Linked DNA regions of Homo sapiens: region 1 is linked to region 2. Evidence: promoter capture Hi-C in human tissues and cell types (Jung and others, 2019). All regions are on one chromosome and are shown on one strand. The core of a region is centred on a gene start or on the middle of the fragment in contact, and the rest is flanking DNA. Distances in the headings are between cores, read along the strand shown.

Region 1 (2,700 bases), core at 197-2,696, 35 kb before region 2:
CCACCCCCTCCCTGACAGTCGGACCCTTTCCTGGGGATGATTATGGGCCTCGGAGGAGGCATGGACTTTGACTCCAAGAAGGCCTACAGGTGAGGCCCCGCCGGGGGTTGGGGCAGCCTGGAAGGGACAGGGTGAGGTGGGAGCGGGGGCACGAAGGCAGATGAGAGGAGCAGGCAGGGGCGAGCCCGCCTGGGAACTCTGATCTCCTGCTGCACCGCAGGGACGTGGCCTGGCTGGGTGAATGCGACCAGGGCTGCCTGGCCCTTGCTGAGCTCCTTGGATGGAAGGTGAGGAGCTGAGCAACCCCAGCCTGTCCTGAGCCCCATCCCTGGACCCTCTCCCCACCCCATGGGTCCTCTGACCCCATGATGCACAGTGACCTTTGACTTCTGTGACCTTTGCTCCTGCAGAAGGAGCTGGAGGACCTTGTCCGGAGGGAGCACGCCAGCATAGATGCCCAGTCGGGGGCGGGGGTCCCCAACCCCAGCACTTCAGCTTCCCCCAAGAAGTCCCCGCCACCTGCCAAGGACGAGGCCAGGACAACAGAGAGGGAGAAACCCCAGTGACAGCTGCATCTCCCAGGCGGGATGCCGAGCTCCTCAGGGACAGCTGAGCCCCAACCGGGCCTGGCCCCCTCTTAACCAGCAGTTCTTGTCTGGGGAGCTCAGAACATCCCCCAATCTCTTACAGCTCCCTCCCCAAAACTGGGGTCCCAGCAACCCTGGCCCCCAACCCCAGCAAATCTCTAACACCTCCTAGAGGCCAAGGCTTAAACAGGCATCTCTACCAGCCCCACTGTCTCTAACCACTCCTGGGCTAAGGAGTAACCTCCCTCATCTCTAACTGCCCCCACGGGGCCAGGGCTACCCCAGAACTTTTAACTCTTCCAGGACAGGGAGCTTCGGGCCCCCACTCTGTCTCCTGCCCCCGGGGGCCTGTGGCTAAGTAAACCATACCTAACCTACCCCAGTGTGGGTGTGGGCCTCTGAATATAACCCACACCCAGCGTAGGGGGAGTCTGAGCCGGGAGGGCTCCCGAGTCTCTGCCTTCAGCTCCCAAAGTGGGTGGTGGGCCCCCTTCACGTGGGACCCACTTCCCATGCTGGATGGGCAGAAGACATTGCTTATTGGAGACAAATTAAAAACAAAAACAACTAACAATCCGGTCTGGCCTCCTGTTTCTTTCTGTGGGCACCCAGGGAAATCTCTGAAGGGAGGGGGTTAGATCTTGGGCCACTAAGGAACCAGAAAGTCTCCGGGATCCAGAGTGAGGGGTAACAAGAGGGTCCTCACGGGGGCCCTCGTGGCTCTGACCCCTGGACTCCCAGCCTGCCAGTGTCCCTTCCTCTAAGCCCCGTCACTAAAGGCCTGAGGCCCCAGAAAGAGGGAGGAAAGTTGACTTCAGATACCCCAGCCCCGCCTCTTCCCCCTGCCTGCTCAGCTTCCTCTCTCCACTTCCTGCTACTGCAGGCCTCTCCTCCGAGAACAGGTAGGGCCCCCAGGAACCGAGCATCTGGCATCTTCAGCCCCTGCTGCCTCCCTTTGGTATGAGGCAGCTGCCCTGACCCACCCCTGCCACGCACTGCCCACAGCCTCCTCTCCTGCCACGGTACACAAGCAGGCATCTGCTTCCCTCTCCCCTCCCCTCCCCTCCCTTCCTTCCTGCTCTTGCCTGGGCAGGGCACCTGCGCCTCCCTGCCCACCTCCCTCCTTCCTAATAACACCCTGGCCTTCTGGTCAATGGCCTAATGTATTTGTTTAGCTGCCTATTATCCATATGCTACACCTGCCCCAAACAAGAATGGAAGGCCCTGAGGGGAGGAGCCTGTCCTGTTCATCACCCTCTCTCCAGGGCAGAGGCACCTAATTCCAGCCTGTATTCAGTAAATACTGGATGGATGGAAGGAAGGAAGGAAGGGAGGGAGGGAGGGAGGGAGGATGGATCCTCCCCCGATCCAGGTCTCCTGCTCCTGGGACTGCTGCTGGGATAAGTGCCACCCTAAGTGATAACCTACGTAGGACTCTGTACCTGGTTAGGAGCTGGGGCCTGATGGGTGGATGAAGAGAGAGAGGAACAGATGTGTGATAAAGCAAGATGAGTAAAATGTTCATGGTAGAATCTTGGTAGTGGGCATAGGGATGTTTCCTGTACAATTCTTTCAGCTTTTCTCTATGTCTGAAATTTTTCATAATAAAATGCTGGGGGAAGAGATTCAGTGGCCCCTCCATGGTGTGGGAAGGGAGGAAGAGGGGATGTTATTACCTTTCCAGATATAGGGACTGCCTACTCTGGGCCAAGAACTTTTCCAGGCGCTGACTGGGTTTTGCCAAGGGCTGGCCCACATTTACACAGCCCCCATGGCTGTTAAAAATCTTAACATATTTCCTACCACTTCAGTAAAGAGCTATTGTTTTGAGTCCTCTCCCCACACCGCAAGACACACTGGCCTCTCTCCTGGGATCCCCAGATTCCCCACCATCCGGTACTAAAGATTTAACCCCTGCCGGCCGGGTGTGGTGGCTCATGCCTGTAATCTCAGCACTTTGGGAGGCCGAGGCGGGGGGATCACTTGAGGTCAGGAGTTTGAGACCAGCCTGGGTAACACGTCAAAACCTTGTCTCTACTAAAAAATACAAAAATTACCCAGGCGTGGTGGTGCACGCCTGTAATCCCAACTACTCGGGAGACTGAGGCACAAG
Region 2 (2,700 bases), core at 200-2,699:
GCCGGGCACAGTGGCTCATGCCTGCAATCCCAGCACTTTCGGAGGCCGAGGTGGACAGATACCTGAGGTCAGGAGTTCGAGACCAGCCTAGCCAACGTGGTGAAACCCTGTCGCTAATAATACAAAAAATAGCCAGGCATGGTGGTGAACGCCTGTAATCCCAGCTACTCTGGAGGCTGAGGCAGGAGAATCGCTTGAGCCTGGGAGGCGGAGATTGCAGTGAGCCGAGACTGTGCCACTGTATTCCATCCTGGGCAACACAGCGAGACTCCATATCCAAAAAAAAAAAAAAAAGGTGGGGCATGTGTGAAGGTTGCTGAGGAGGTGATGTCCTATGAGCAAATAGGAGCTTATACTCAAGGTGGAGGAAACAGCCTCTGCAAAGGTTGTAAAGTCAGAAGGAGCTTGTGTTGGATGGAGAAATTGAAAGACCTGAGGATTGCAAAGTGGCTGGCAAGCAGACGGGTTTGGAATAGACATTGGAAGAAGCTTTTAGGGCATCCTAGACAGCGTTGCGATGCTTGGGGCAGGGGCAGGAAAAAGCCACTGATGGACTTTCAGGGCAGAGCTGTAATCGAGTTGATGTTTCAGATTTAGTCGAAGGGTGTGAGAGGGCTGAGACGGAGAAAGTGGTGTGGCAGAAGAGGTTGCTGGTGGCCATGGGTCGGGGTGCAGATTATGAGAGAACTCTGGCCAGTGACTGCTCACCCGGGGCAGCGTTGAGTCCATCAACACCGTTTTGGTCTCTTAACCTGAGGCTAGTGGCTGGGCAGTGAGCTAATCCCAAAGCTTCCGTCTGTACCACAGTCTTGGGGTGCTACCTTGTCCTTATCACACTCTGGGGTAACTTGAAGCCCTTCTCAAAGATCTCCTGTGATGGGACTTTCCTTAACTTGACTCACATTTGACTCAGTTCAAAGTGCCCAGCGGGCCAAGGCCTCTCTCAATGGGGCTGATATCTATTCTGGCTGTTGCACTCTGAAGATCGAATACGCAAAGGTACATCTGGGAGGTGACTGACTGCCCCTTGTCAGCTTCCAGGTGAGCTGGGGCATGGCTGACCTCAAGTCTTGTCTTGTCCTGTCCTTGCAGCCTACACGCTTGAATGTGTTCAAGAATGATCAGGATACTTGGGACTACACAAACCCCAATCTCAGTGGACAAGGTAATCTTGACGACCACTTTGTTCTAAACATACCCGCCTTGCTTTCACTCGACTAGTGCACTTAATAGGCCTGGGCTCAGGGTTATGTAATGCCATTGGGCCCCCCATGGACATGGGAGGGCCTTGGGGTCAGCACTTGGACACCCTAGTGGGATGGGGGAGTGAGAGGCCTCCATGGGTCTTCACTGCTGCTTGGGGCCCTCCGATGCTGCTCAGGATACAGAGGCAAGGCAGAAGCCTGGATGGGCGGGGAGCAGGGCCTCACTGAGGATGAGGCGTGGGGGCGGCCTTAGAAACCAGCAGTGGCTCCTTTGAGAGTCTGGTGAGGGTCACTCACTCCATTCTTGCTGGACCAGGAATTGTCCTCTTGTTCTGCGCTGTTGAGAGGGTCTGATTTGGGGGAGTGACAGTGTTGGGGGGCGATGAGGTCTCCTGGGCTCTTGCAGTGAGCCTTGTGAGCAAGCTGACCCTGTGGAGGTGAGACACTCTGGATTGGACCAGGGCGGACATGCCTCACATCATTTGTAGAGGGGACGCAACATCTCTGCAGGTGGCCCAAATGGACAACTCCCTTCCTAGTGTCTGTCAAGAATGGTTTGCCTTTGGTAGCAGGGAGAGGTGGAGGATTGCCTATGAGAAACAGCGGCAGCCCCCCAACAAGACCATCCATCTCGGTGTCTGTCTTGGTCTGATACGTCGGACCAGGCCATGGGCTGAGGGAGGAGGCTCGATGCTGACATCGCACAGGCCCTGAGAGGCCAGAGCCCCCCATTCCTAGGCAGGCCTGTCTTGCTCGCCCTTGCATCTGGGAAGCAGTGGGCAGGGTGGGCTAGACTCTTCCCCAGGATCCTCACAGTGGGCCCTGTGGGCCTGGCTGCTCCCTCCAAAGGTCAGAGGCAAATTGGTGACCAAGTGAATGTACCAGAGCGGGCAATGGCATTACATGACTGCTAACAGAAACATGGCAACAACCATTTCTTCTCCAAGGAACATAAATAGAAGATGTGCAGACCGGCAGGGGCTAGTGGCAGGGGGCTGGCTGTGCATTGGTTTTGATGCCTCTCAGCTTTGGCAGCCCCAAGGCTGGGGCCCAAAAAAAAACGAGGGCTGATGAGGTGACCTGGAGTGAGGGCGGTGCTTCGCCACCCCTCAGGAACCATACTTCAGCGGCTCTGCCTCTGCACATTGCTCACCAACACACAGGGTAGAAAACCACTAGCTCTTCCTGGAGAGAACAGAACATGCAGCCTCCACCACGTCCCCAGAAACAGCCGCAGACTTGAGCTCACTACATCAAGAACACCACACCGCGCTCCAAGGAACAGCTACAAGCACAGAGACAGAGGCATACAGAGACAAAGAGAGAAAGAGACGCAACATGGCAGCAGACACTGCTTTTTTTATTAAACATTAAAAAAAAGGTCAAAATCCAAGCAAACTTGAACCCGAGAATGTACACAGAAGTAGGAAACACAGAGAACAGAGCTGTCCCAGCCAGCCAGCGAGCGATGCTCTTTTCGGAGAACGTTTCATAG

What was found. Contacts are between HindIII fragments. The study calls those that stand out against the background at their distance.
Region 1: the fragment with the promoter of RINL here is called in contact with a fragment that was not itself captured in region 2 in 2 of the 25 tissues and cell types used here (dorsolateral prefrontal cortex and lymphoblastoid cells).

Annotation. Positions count from the first base shown.
Region 1 is chr19:38,877,021-38,879,720 of GRCh38, reverse strand. It overlaps RINL (Ras and Rab interactor like), which reads left to right and starts at 1,446. Exons shown (of 12, transcript NM_001195833.2): 1 at 1,446-1,489. SIRT2 (sirtuin 2) reads left to right here. Exons shown (of 16, transcript NM_012237.4): 14 at 19-89; 15 at 221-287; 16 at 411-1,161. The coding sequence ends at 566. RefSeq lists enhancers at 810-909, 950-1,069 and a silencer at 1,610-1,659. The HindIII fragment of the contact is 14,230 bases long and covers 1-2,700 here.
Region 2 is chr19:38,842,307-38,845,006 of GRCh38, reverse strand. HNRNPL (heterogeneous nuclear ribonucleoprotein L) reads left to right here. Exons shown (of 13, transcript NM_001533.3): 5 at 903-999; 6 at 1,093-1,165. Among named protein-coding and RNA genes, the nearest start is that of HNRNPL, 6.3 kb to the left of the region's middle. RefSeq lists enhancers at 1,596-2,096, 2,179-2,258. The HindIII fragment of the contact is 4,246 bases long and covers 1-2,700 here.